Regions from separate parts of the Homo sapiens genome. Here region 2 is linked to region 1. The links are contacts of gene promoters, found by promoter capture Hi-C in human tissues and cell types (Jung and others, 2019). All regions are on one chromosome and are shown on one strand. Each heading gives the region's core, a stretch centred on a gene start or on the middle of the fragment in contact. The rest is flanking DNA. Distances are from core to core; before and after follow the strand shown. Region 1 holds the start of LRRFIP1 (LRR binding FLII interacting protein 1). Region 2 has its middle 8.9 kb from the start of MLPH.

Region 1 (5,197 bases), core at 1,399-3,898:
TTCACAGTTGAGAAATAGAAGTTAATTTGTACTAAAACATAAGATGTCACACCTGCTCCCTCCAACCCTATCAATCTGTGCTACTCAGCACTAGTAACAGCTGCACCTACGGCTGGGTTTTACCGGGAGGGGCGTGTAAGAAGCTCTCATATTTACCCACCGCCTAGTTACATACTTTACATTGCTACCCACTTTCTTTAATTCTGACAGCCAGGGGAGGTTTCTTCTTCTCCATTTTAGAGACGAGAAAACAGAGGCCCAGAGAAGAGTGAGTAACTCACCTTCCTAGGATGGCACAGCTGGCTAAGAACTATGTCATTTGAAAGCCCAGCTCTGACTCACAAGTCTATCTCTGTAACTCCAACTGCATCTCCCTCGGTGGGAGGGAGGACCTCAGGGCTCTCAACCCAAGGAGTGTTCCCTTGCCTTCCTTTTCAATCTATTTTATAAAAACCAGCAGATAGGCTGGGCGCAGTGGCTTACGCCTGTAATCCCAGCACTTTGAGAGGCCAAGGCGGGAAGATCACTTGAGGCCAGGAGTTTGAGACCAGCCTGGCCAACACGGTGAAACCCCGTCTCTATTAAAAATACAAAAATTAGCCGGGTGTGGTGGTGCGTGCCTGTAATCCCAGCTACTGGTGAGGCTGAGGCAGGAGGATCTCTTGAGCCTGGGAGGTGGAGGTTGCAGTGAGCCGAGATCATACCACTGTACTCCAGCCTGGGCAACAGAGTGAGACTGTGTTAAAAAAAAAAAAAAAAAAAAAAAAGAAGAAAGAAACACCAGTGGATAAAAGGCAAACTCTGGAAATTTTCATTCTTCTCATTCTTCTGCCCCATAACCACTGACATCAAGACAAGGCTTGCGATTCACTGGCCACCTCTGGCCCTTGCAGGGAACACTTGTAAGGCACTGTGGTCAAATGCATACATAAGTGACTGTCTTCACAGGAGGGAGTTATACTCAAGCTACTATATTTAGCAAATGTCTATATTTAGCCAAAGGTCCTTTAAATGCCTTGTACTTCTTTTGTTTATTAATTAATGTAACAGACATAGACAAACACCTAGTATGTGCCTGGCTCTGTGCTGAGCTCTTGGGATACAAAAGTAAGATATTTCCTGTCTGGGTGTCACCTTCTACAGGTGGACAAATAATGATAAGGTATCCTGACTGCCATGCCAGGCGCGGGCATGCCATGGAGGGCCGTGGAGCCAGGGAGACTTAGGCCTGGTGCGATGTGAGAGGGCTGAGTCTGGAAGGTCTCCTGGAGGTCACAGTGGGCTTCCAGGAATGAATAAGGGTTTGCCTGGAAAGCCCTTTTCTGTATCATACAGAGAAAAACAGAAGTCTTTATTCACTCAGTAGTCAACAAATACTGAGTGACTGCCACATGTCCGTAAGAGCAAAATCAGGTATTTACAACTACAAACACCTAAGGATTGGTTACAGAGTAGATCCCCCAGAATATCTGACGGATACAGCCAGACACCACAGTCCAAATGGCTTGGAGGTGTTTCCTGTGGGAAGAATCACATGTGGAAAAGCCAACACGGAAAAGAACCTGTAAGGCGGGTTACAAGGCAGAGACTTTCTTTGCATTCATACACCCACCTGGCACACAGTTCAAATGGTACAAAGGGAACACAGTCAAAAATTAAGCTTCCTTTGTCCCCCTGGGGCCGCAACCTATTGGCTCCCCTTTTCCCAAGCTGCTGCTCTCTGTCCCTGTACGGCTTTCTGGATGTCATGTACATTCTTTAGCCTTAAGGTAGAATCCTTGCGGAAGGAAAAAAAAAAAGGCATTTGTACAAATACCCATTCTAGTGCGCCTTCAATTTGTCACAGGTAAAGTTCATCACCAAACATGATCTTAGTTACAATAAACTCTGTCCAGGAAACTTTAATGAAGACGTTTCAGTGTGCCTGGACCCGTTTCCAGGCTCAGTCCTGAAAGAAAAATCACAGTGATCCCCAAGTTCATCTCTGAGCTGCACCTTGAGTGACATCGATGGATGGATGACAAATGGTCACCTGAGCGACTCGGCCATTTCAGCAGGGCCATGTGGCCTCCGGCGACCGTCCACTGCCTCCAGGTCGGGCCTAAGCCCCCGCCTCCTCCCATGCCGCACAACAAAGCGGGGCGCTCGCCCCCACCCGGCCAGCCCGGGCCACCTCGCGCGCTGGCGGCGCCCGGCTCCTCTCCCGAGGGCGCAGCGGCCGACGGTGGCCGGGGTGGGGGAGGGCGCGCAGCGTCGCGGGCTGGGCCCGGGGCTGGAGAACGGGTGCGGGGTCCGCAGGCCTCGGAGATCGGGGCCGGGGCGCAGCGCCTGGGGATCAGCGCCCCGGCGCGCGCCTGCCCGGCCCACCCGCCTGGAGCCGGACGCGCAGTGGCACAGACGCACAGCGGGACAGACGGACGCCGGAGAGACCCTGACAGCCGTCCGGCCCCCGCGCCCGCCCGGCGCCCCCCGGCTGCCCTCCCGGAGCGCTCACCTCCCGCGCGATCTGGTTGAGCGCGTCGTCCTCCGCCGTGAGCCGCTCCCGGTTGGGGAGCCGCTTGCGCCCCGATCCCTGGGTGCCCATGTCCATCGACCGCGTCGCCCGCAGCTGCCGCGGGGCCCGTTGCTCCAGCCGCTCGCGCCGCCCCGGCCCGGCCCCGGCCCCGGCCCCTCCCTCCGCCGCGGCGTCATGGCGTCAGCGGGCGCTGGGCCGGGGACGCGGGGACGCGGGGGGACGGGGGCCGCGGGGACCCGGGGGAAGCCAGAGCCGGAGGTCCGCAGCGCGGGCCAGGGACTGCAGGGGCCAGGGACGGCGGGGCGGGGGACGGGGGCGGGGGGCGGAGACGCCAGGTGTCAGGGACGATGGGGGTCCGATACCACGGGGACGCTGCGGATGCCCAGGGCCGGGCACGCGGGACCTGAGGGACCGGGAGCCCCGGAGGGTGGACTTTGCGGGGACTGTTTGGCGGGCCGGTAATCGCGGAGCGACGCGCGCCAGGGCGGTGGGCACCGGTTGAGTGGGGACCTGAGCGGAGAGCGGGGGGGTAGGAAGGCTTTCAGAGGCCTGAGTTGCCTTGAGGGGTTTGCACGGAGGGGTGAGCACAGGATTTGGTTCAGCCTGGCGCTCCCCATTCCGCGGTGAGTCGGGGTGGAAGTCCCTCGCCGGGGTGAGAGCTAGGCTCTGGGGTCAGGCCGAGAGGTGCTCGGATCCGCCCGCCACCGCCGCTCCTGTGACCTTGGCCAGCCTCCTGGGCGCCGGCTTCACAGCGGCATGGTGTGGATGTGTGCGTTTCTGTCTTTACACGCGTGTTCTCCGTGCTAGCATCCATCCTTCTCCCCGCTGTCTGCCCCCTGAGATCAAGGACTTGTCACTTCTCTGGTGGGTCCCCAGCCTCTAGGATCGGGGCAGGTGCGTCGCAGCTCTCTCCTAGTTGTTGAAAAAGTAATGAACTTACCTGTGCTCTCTGAAGCTCACAGTCTATGCTCCAGAGGTGGATTTAAAAGTAAAGCAAATCGGAGGATTAGGTAGGGGTTAAAAGCCCCTGCCTAGGGCACGGCAGGAGCACCGGGTGGGAAAGTTACTGGTGTGTTTGGGGTATGGGGAGAACTTCAGTGTGGCTGGACCTGGGGAAGGATGGGAGGGAGGGTAGTGATGGTAGAGGAGAGGAGGCTGTACTGAAGTCACCTGTGATTTTTTTCCCCCAGTGATAAGGACAGTTAACATTTCGGTGTATTTCCCACCAAGTGGTGTGACCAGATTGCTTTGGATTCTTAAGGAGGTGGCCTGGAAGCTGTATGAAGGTGGGAAGAGGAAGAGGGCCCTTCCACCCACAGTGGCAGGGAAAGCTGTTGGAGGTTTCATTGCAGGGAAAAGACAGCGAGTCCAGTGACATGGGAGGGAGGGCAGATCCAGGTGACATTGCTCTGGGTGCCTGAGCTGACGCAGGTGGGTTGGCAGGGCTGACTGTGGCATTGTTCATGACTGAACTCCGGGAGCAGAAACTGCACCTGCACATTGTAGGCACTAAGGAAATAGGTGTTGACTGAATCTTCCAGGCCATATTTACATTACTTCAGAGGCCATACTCCTTAAGTGACATAGTCCTCCTTGGGGGAAACCTTGAGCCGTGGCCACTTGCACTGCCTTGGTCTTGCTGGTGGCTGCTCACTGTTTCCCAGCCCCTGGGGCACTGTGGGGACTGTGCGTCTTTGCCGAGGCTGGTCCCCATGAGTTCACTCATTCCTGCACCCACACCTGCTGCCTGCCAGCTGCTGAGCTGGAGGCTGGGGCATAGCTGTCCGAGAGGCAGACACGGCTGCTGCCTCTCAGGGCTGACTTGAGATGCCTGGAGCTCCTTAACTAAAGCCATATCCAAGTTCCAACGTCTCCTTTCTAAAAGAAGTCTCCCTTTGCTCCCTGTCCTTCATTGGAACTTTGAGCCACTTTTTGCTAACACCTAAATCCTCCATCCTGATGTGTTGAGGCCAGGAGGGCAGGCGCTGACCCCATCTTCCTCATCTTTAAGCCTTCACCAGGGACTGGCTGTGCCAGTTGCTTAGTGGAGTGCAGTGGTTGAACTTGTGGAACAGAGTTCAGTTCCCAACCCTCCTCCCCACTTTCCCTGTTGGATTGTTGTCCAGAGACAGGAGATTCACTGCCGTGGGGACTGGCCAGAGGTGTGTCTGAACAGCTCCCGCTGGTAGACAGTGTTCTCGGACACTGTGGTGAATTCAGCTTCCTGCCCCTCCCCCATCATCTGTCCACTTCCAGAAAAGAGCCGCCTTTCAGAAATCATCAGAAACAACATTGCTGGGTCCTCCCATGACCCCATGACATAACAACTTCCTGGCTACAGTCCTCTTCCCCTGGCGATGTGCTCTCAGAGTGGACCGGTTCTCACTTCAGAGTCAGTTTCCGCCTCTAAATGGAAATACGGGTGCCCACTGTCTTAGTTCCTTTGTGCTGCTGTAACAGAACGCCTTAGACAGGGTCATTTATAAAACCACGGAAATGTATTGTTCACAGCTGTGGAGGCTGGGAAGTCCAGCATCAAGCCTCCAGCAGAATCAGTGTCTGGTTGAGGCCCATTCCTCACAGATGGTGCCTTCTGTGTGTCATCTCATGGTGGAAGACGGGCTCCCTCCAGGCTTTTGTGTAAGGGCACTCATCGCGTTCATGAGGTCTCTGCTTCAGGAC
Region 2 (5,151 bases), core at 1,925-4,424, 150 kb after region 1:
GTGGGCATCCCTACAGCAGGTGGTGGGCATCCCTATACCAGGTGGTGGGCATCCCTACAGCAGGTGTTGGGCATCACCCCATTCCCAAGTCACAATGGTCGAATTAGGCATTACAGGAACAATTCCTTTTGCTTCTTCTCCACTTCCATAATTCATAGCGATGGCCTAATTTCAGTTTCAACACACAAGCCACACTTCATATCTCACGTTAAACTCTTGTATGAATGTTGCAGAATATTTGCAGTAACGCTAATGTCCTCCCCACAGTGAAAGCTGTTACAAGATCTCTCGCTCGAGCTGCTACCGCCTGCACCTCTCAGGTTGGTCTGATGTCAGCACAGGGCTTGGCTGAAACCACCCCAGAGCCAGCAGCAGGAATCCAGCAGTATCACCGCCCCTAGGCCTCCCCCTCACTCATGGCCAGATTCAAAGCCCATTACCAACTAGTAATATACCTAGAGCCAATTCCTAACCCGTGAATCCTCACCTTCACCTTCCCATTCCCCATACTCACCTCAGTCTTGCCCTTCTGTGAACTACAGTTTTCCAAGCTTGCCTCCACCTGAACTCCAAACCCAATTAATTTCCAGCCCTATCTTCCATGGCTTTCTGACCCCACAAATCCAAATGAGTCCACCTATTCCTGGGAGCACGTGTGCCTTCAGTTCTGGGTGGAAATGCAATGTCAGGCTGTGTTTTGTGCCTTCTCATTTTCTCCTACAGTTATCCAAGGTTAACCCTCAAGACAGGCTCAAATCCTACCTGCTCAGGTTGCTGGGCTAGGTCACTGGTTTTGAAGCAGGGTTTGTAAACATATTTCAGGTTCTGAAAATACTTGGTTAGAATTTTCAGGTATTTAAAATTATTTAAAAACTGTCATAACAACTAAACACATACTTGGGAAACGGAATGACAGGCTCAGGTCTATCTCCCCAGGGCATACTGTGAGAGCCAGAAGGCATCTGTGGCGGTGTTTAAAGAAATCCGCATCTCCTGCCAACTTAGTGCAGACTGTGCTGAAAATCAGAGCCAGGATTTGATTGTAAGGGTGCCAAGAGGAAGGTTTCCAGATGAAATGTAGGCTTTCCAGTTAAATTTGAATTTCAGATAAACACGGAATAACTTTTAGTATAAGTATGTTCTAAATATTGCATGGGGCATACTTGCTTACACTAAAATATTATTTGTTGCTTATCTCAAATTCAAATTTAACTAAGCGTTTTGTATTGACATCCTGCAAATCTATACCAGAAATACAAAGGGAACACCCTGAATATGTTTTCTGTGCTTAAGTCAGGGCACTGATAGGGTGGTAGAATCATGTAACCTGGGAGGAGGACATTTGGATAGATGAGTCTAAGCTTGAACACCTAGATTCCCAAGAACCCTCTTGGGAATAGCCCTTTCCCTTTTCCCAAGGATGCTGATACCTGGATACTGTGCAGAGTCTTCACCTGAGATGGTTGACTTCCAATGTGATGCTTGTCCTTCTCAAGATCTGTCTCCATCTCTTCTTATTTCCTCTACACAAATAACTAGGGCCAGGTCCCAGTATAGCCCAAGTGGGAAAATAAAGTTTCTTTTCTAGGAATAAACAGCATCTAGTGAACATAACTGCAAGTCTTGGCTAATATATGTCACCAAGCGACAGAGAGAAATGTGTCTGAATAAGCCACGGAGATATTGAATTCAGTTTGTTGATTTGGAGGAACTTGTCTATGTCTTAGAATTTGACTTCTTGGCAAGGATACTTGGAAATCATTCAAATACACTGCTGAGATGGCACTGCGAAGCTTGGGCATGATGTAAATGAGGTGTAGATGTTATGCTTGCCTTGGCAGAGTATTGAGTAGGAACTTAGAAGGCTTAGGGAGGTAGAAATGTGAGAATGGATTTATTATGTAAGATCAAAGACTCTATCATTTGACTGTGTTTCCTGGGAGGGCCCAGAGGACACTTTCTTCACCAAAGCAATAAGAAATATACCAGTGTGGGGAGTGTCTGCATCTTTTGGCAACTCAATACTGGCTGTTCTCTGAAGCTGGTATTAACAGTAGGAAGTTACTCCATGGAACTACACTCTGTAGTGTCATGGGGGTTGCTGGGATTCTGAAATAGAAGAGTTCAGATAGAGATCCTCAACTATCAGAGGTAGGGTGGACAGAATTTCTGTAATGGTAAAAAATCCAGAAAAGCAACCAAACATAAGTGTCTATGGGATGGCTAGTAGACTATGGTATTCCTTGGGGCTCAAGAAATTAGCAGACAATTAGGGTACTGGTTGATTGTGCACACAGATAATTCAAGGACTGGTGAACGGAAGGCTGATATCAGATGCTGCAATGAAAAATCACAATCCCTCATTCAGTTTCCATATCTAAACCAGTTTTTATAGACCTAGACCCCATCGACTAAAGGAGAAGCAAGGTCCCTTCGAGGAAGGACTTTACAGTGTCACTACAATATATACCATAAATATTATACATTGTTTTCCCCAAAGGGCCCATGGTTATTTACCAGGATAACTGTACATAGGGGAAAGGGAAACAGTCATACTTTGGAGGGTGATTGGATACAGATTCTGAGCTGACATTAGTCAGGGGAGCCATCACGCTGTCATCAGAAAAGATCTGAAACAGCTTTTACGTGGGAAGGACAACAGTACACCTTCTCTCTATTGTCTGTCCCAGGGCTATATCAAATCTCTGATTACTGTCACAATATAATCCTCAGGAACCTTAAGCACATTGGTGCAACATATGGTGATATTTTCCAGATTAGAACTGGTGAAAAGGAGAGTAGAAAGATGCTGAATACTCTGGTAAGACATATGTGCATTGGGAGGCCAATCTTATGATGTTCCAGGGATATAAAACTTAGGCTAGGTTCTTAGGGGACTAAAGATGTAGAGTCTGCTGGGACATACCTTCAAAAGTATAGGGCAAATTATTCTCTTTGCAGGCGCTATGACAAGGACAGAGACATAGCACTAGGTGGAACTTTGGATGTTGGAGGCAGCACATGGCTCACTTGGGAATACTGCTGCAATCCATTTGGGAAGTGATTTGGAAGGCTGGCAGGTTTGAGTGACGCTTAGAGCGTGAGAAAATTCTGTAGCAGGTCCAGGTATTAATGCAAGCTTCTCTAGTTGTTCAGGGAACTGGAAGAGAATAAGGTTGAAAGACTGGAGACAGAGAGGTATGTGCAGGGATCTTGGGAATAGGCGCCATATGTGAATCTTCTATCTCATGTCAATGCTTACCAGAGGCCACCTAGTACAAAAAGGACACTGAATGAATGGGTATACTGGGTCATTTACCCTATGGAGTCAGACTGTGTCCTTGGTCACCTCAATGTTCATGCCAGGGGACCAGGAGGGAGGCCATATGGTCCGACTACGTGGGCTCTATCTCACCAAGCCTGATCTAGCTACTTCTGTTGCTGGATATCTGACTGATGCTGAGCTCTTTACATGGCACCATCCCCTGAGAAGACCAAACAATCCCTTGGAGCTGGCGTAGATTTGGGGTATTTAGTGGGAGTTCGTGAGAGGTAGGTTGGAATGTGCTATTGAAAAGGGTTTAGGATTTTGGTTCTGAAACAAAATGAGTAGACTCACTTTTCCCTACTCCTCCCTTCTAAAAACTAAATACCATGGAAATTCTTTAACAGACAATGATAAAAGGACTCTGAAAGTTGGGTAGAAGAAGGTAGACTGGCCAGAGACCTCAGGACTGGAGGAAAGATAATATGGTGGGTTCCTTAGACTTTTCTTTTTATCTCCCATGTAGCCTAGACTGGGTGTCAGAGATGTCTGCAACCAGTATCTACAACAGGAGATATTCTTTAATGTTTTGTAATAATCTTTTATTATGTTTGAACATAATAACCAAATGACCAGAATATAATACAAACCCACTTGTCATACCAAGAACCAGAAAAAAACCACCCGAGTGAGAAAAGACAATAAATAGATGTTGATACTTTGATGCATCAGATGGTAGAATTATCTGGTAAGAATTTTAAAGCAGTTATTATAAATACGCTTCATAAATTAACATCAGTGCTTCAAAACCAATGCCATAAAAATGCCTCAACAATCAATGTCAAGTCATTGATTTACAGAACATTAATACTTAGAATCAGGAGACTGGGATGTCACACCCACTAGCTGTGTGACCTTGGGCAAGATTTCCAGCGTTACTGGGCACTGATTTCTCTGTCTCCAGAGTGGAGGTTAGGTAGACCATGCAACAGCACACTGGCAGGTCCCGTTAGTTGTCTACTCAATAACCATGTCCCTCGTATGCTAACAGAACCCTAACTCCAGGTAGAGGAGCAAGGACTTCAACTAAAAATAGGCATTTTCCAGCCTCCCTTGCAGTGAAGATAACCTGCATGGACACTTCTGGACAATCGAAGTGCAAGAGGTTCCTGTCCCTTCCAGAATAAACAGGAAACCCTTACTAGGAGAAAGCCCTTTACCTCCTGTCCTTTCTCCCTTCTTCCTGCCTGGATCTTGAATCTGAGATCTGCAGCTACAGCAAGTATCTGGCAACCAGGAGGAGACCAGCAATAGGATGGTGAGGATTGGGGATGGAAAGAAAGCCCAGTGTCCTGACGCATCGCTGAGCTGTGCTCCCAGGCTGACAGGCGACTTCTGAACTCCTTGTTATGGGAGAAAAACACACCTGCACATCTAGGCAACTGTCGGTTGCGTTTCCTGAGCTTGCAGCTGAATGCATTCCTAACTGATTGAATGAGGAAGATGAGGAGGAGGGTGCCAGCTACAATCCTTTCAATGCCAGGTGCTGTTCAAGCGAGTTTACGGGTTCAACCACATTTAATCCTCACAGCTACTAAATGAGGCAGATGCCAGTACGGTCCCCACTTCAGAGAGGACTGAAGGGAGGCATGGGTCCTTGTCTGAGAGGCAGGCGCAGTGAGTCAGGGGTGGAGTAGGAGTGTGTCCACAGCACTTCCGAGTGCCGGCGTATTCACAAATGGCTCATAGGTTCTGTTGTTGTGGTTACCTTAGAGGATTTGTGTGCACGCGCGTGTTTGTGTGTCAACACCTCTAGGATGGTGCTCATGGCATGGGAATTCCTTTCCTCGCTTCCTGCATCCTTCCCCTGGGTCTACTACCTTTTG

Evidence for each region. Contacts are between HindIII fragments. The study calls those that stand out against the background at their distance.
Region 2: a contact is called between a fragment that was not itself captured here and the fragment with the promoter of LRRFIP1 in region 1, in 4 of the 25 tissues and cell types used here (IMR-90 fibroblasts, adrenal gland, mesendoderm cells and 1 more).

Annotation. Positions count from the first base shown.
Region 1 is chr2:237,625,038-237,630,234 of GRCh38, reverse strand. LRRFIP1 (LRR binding FLII interacting protein 1) reads right to left here and starts at 2,648. Exons shown (of 24, transcript NM_001137550.2): 1 at 2,495-2,648. The coding sequence starts at 2,590. The HindIII fragment of the contact is 12,440 bases long and covers 1-5,197 here.
Region 2 is chr2:237,475,798-237,480,948 of GRCh38, reverse strand. No RefSeq gene overlaps it. Among named protein-coding and RNA genes, the nearest start is that of MLPH, 8.9 kb to the left of the region's middle. The HindIII fragment of the contact is 6,464 bases long and covers 1-5,151 here.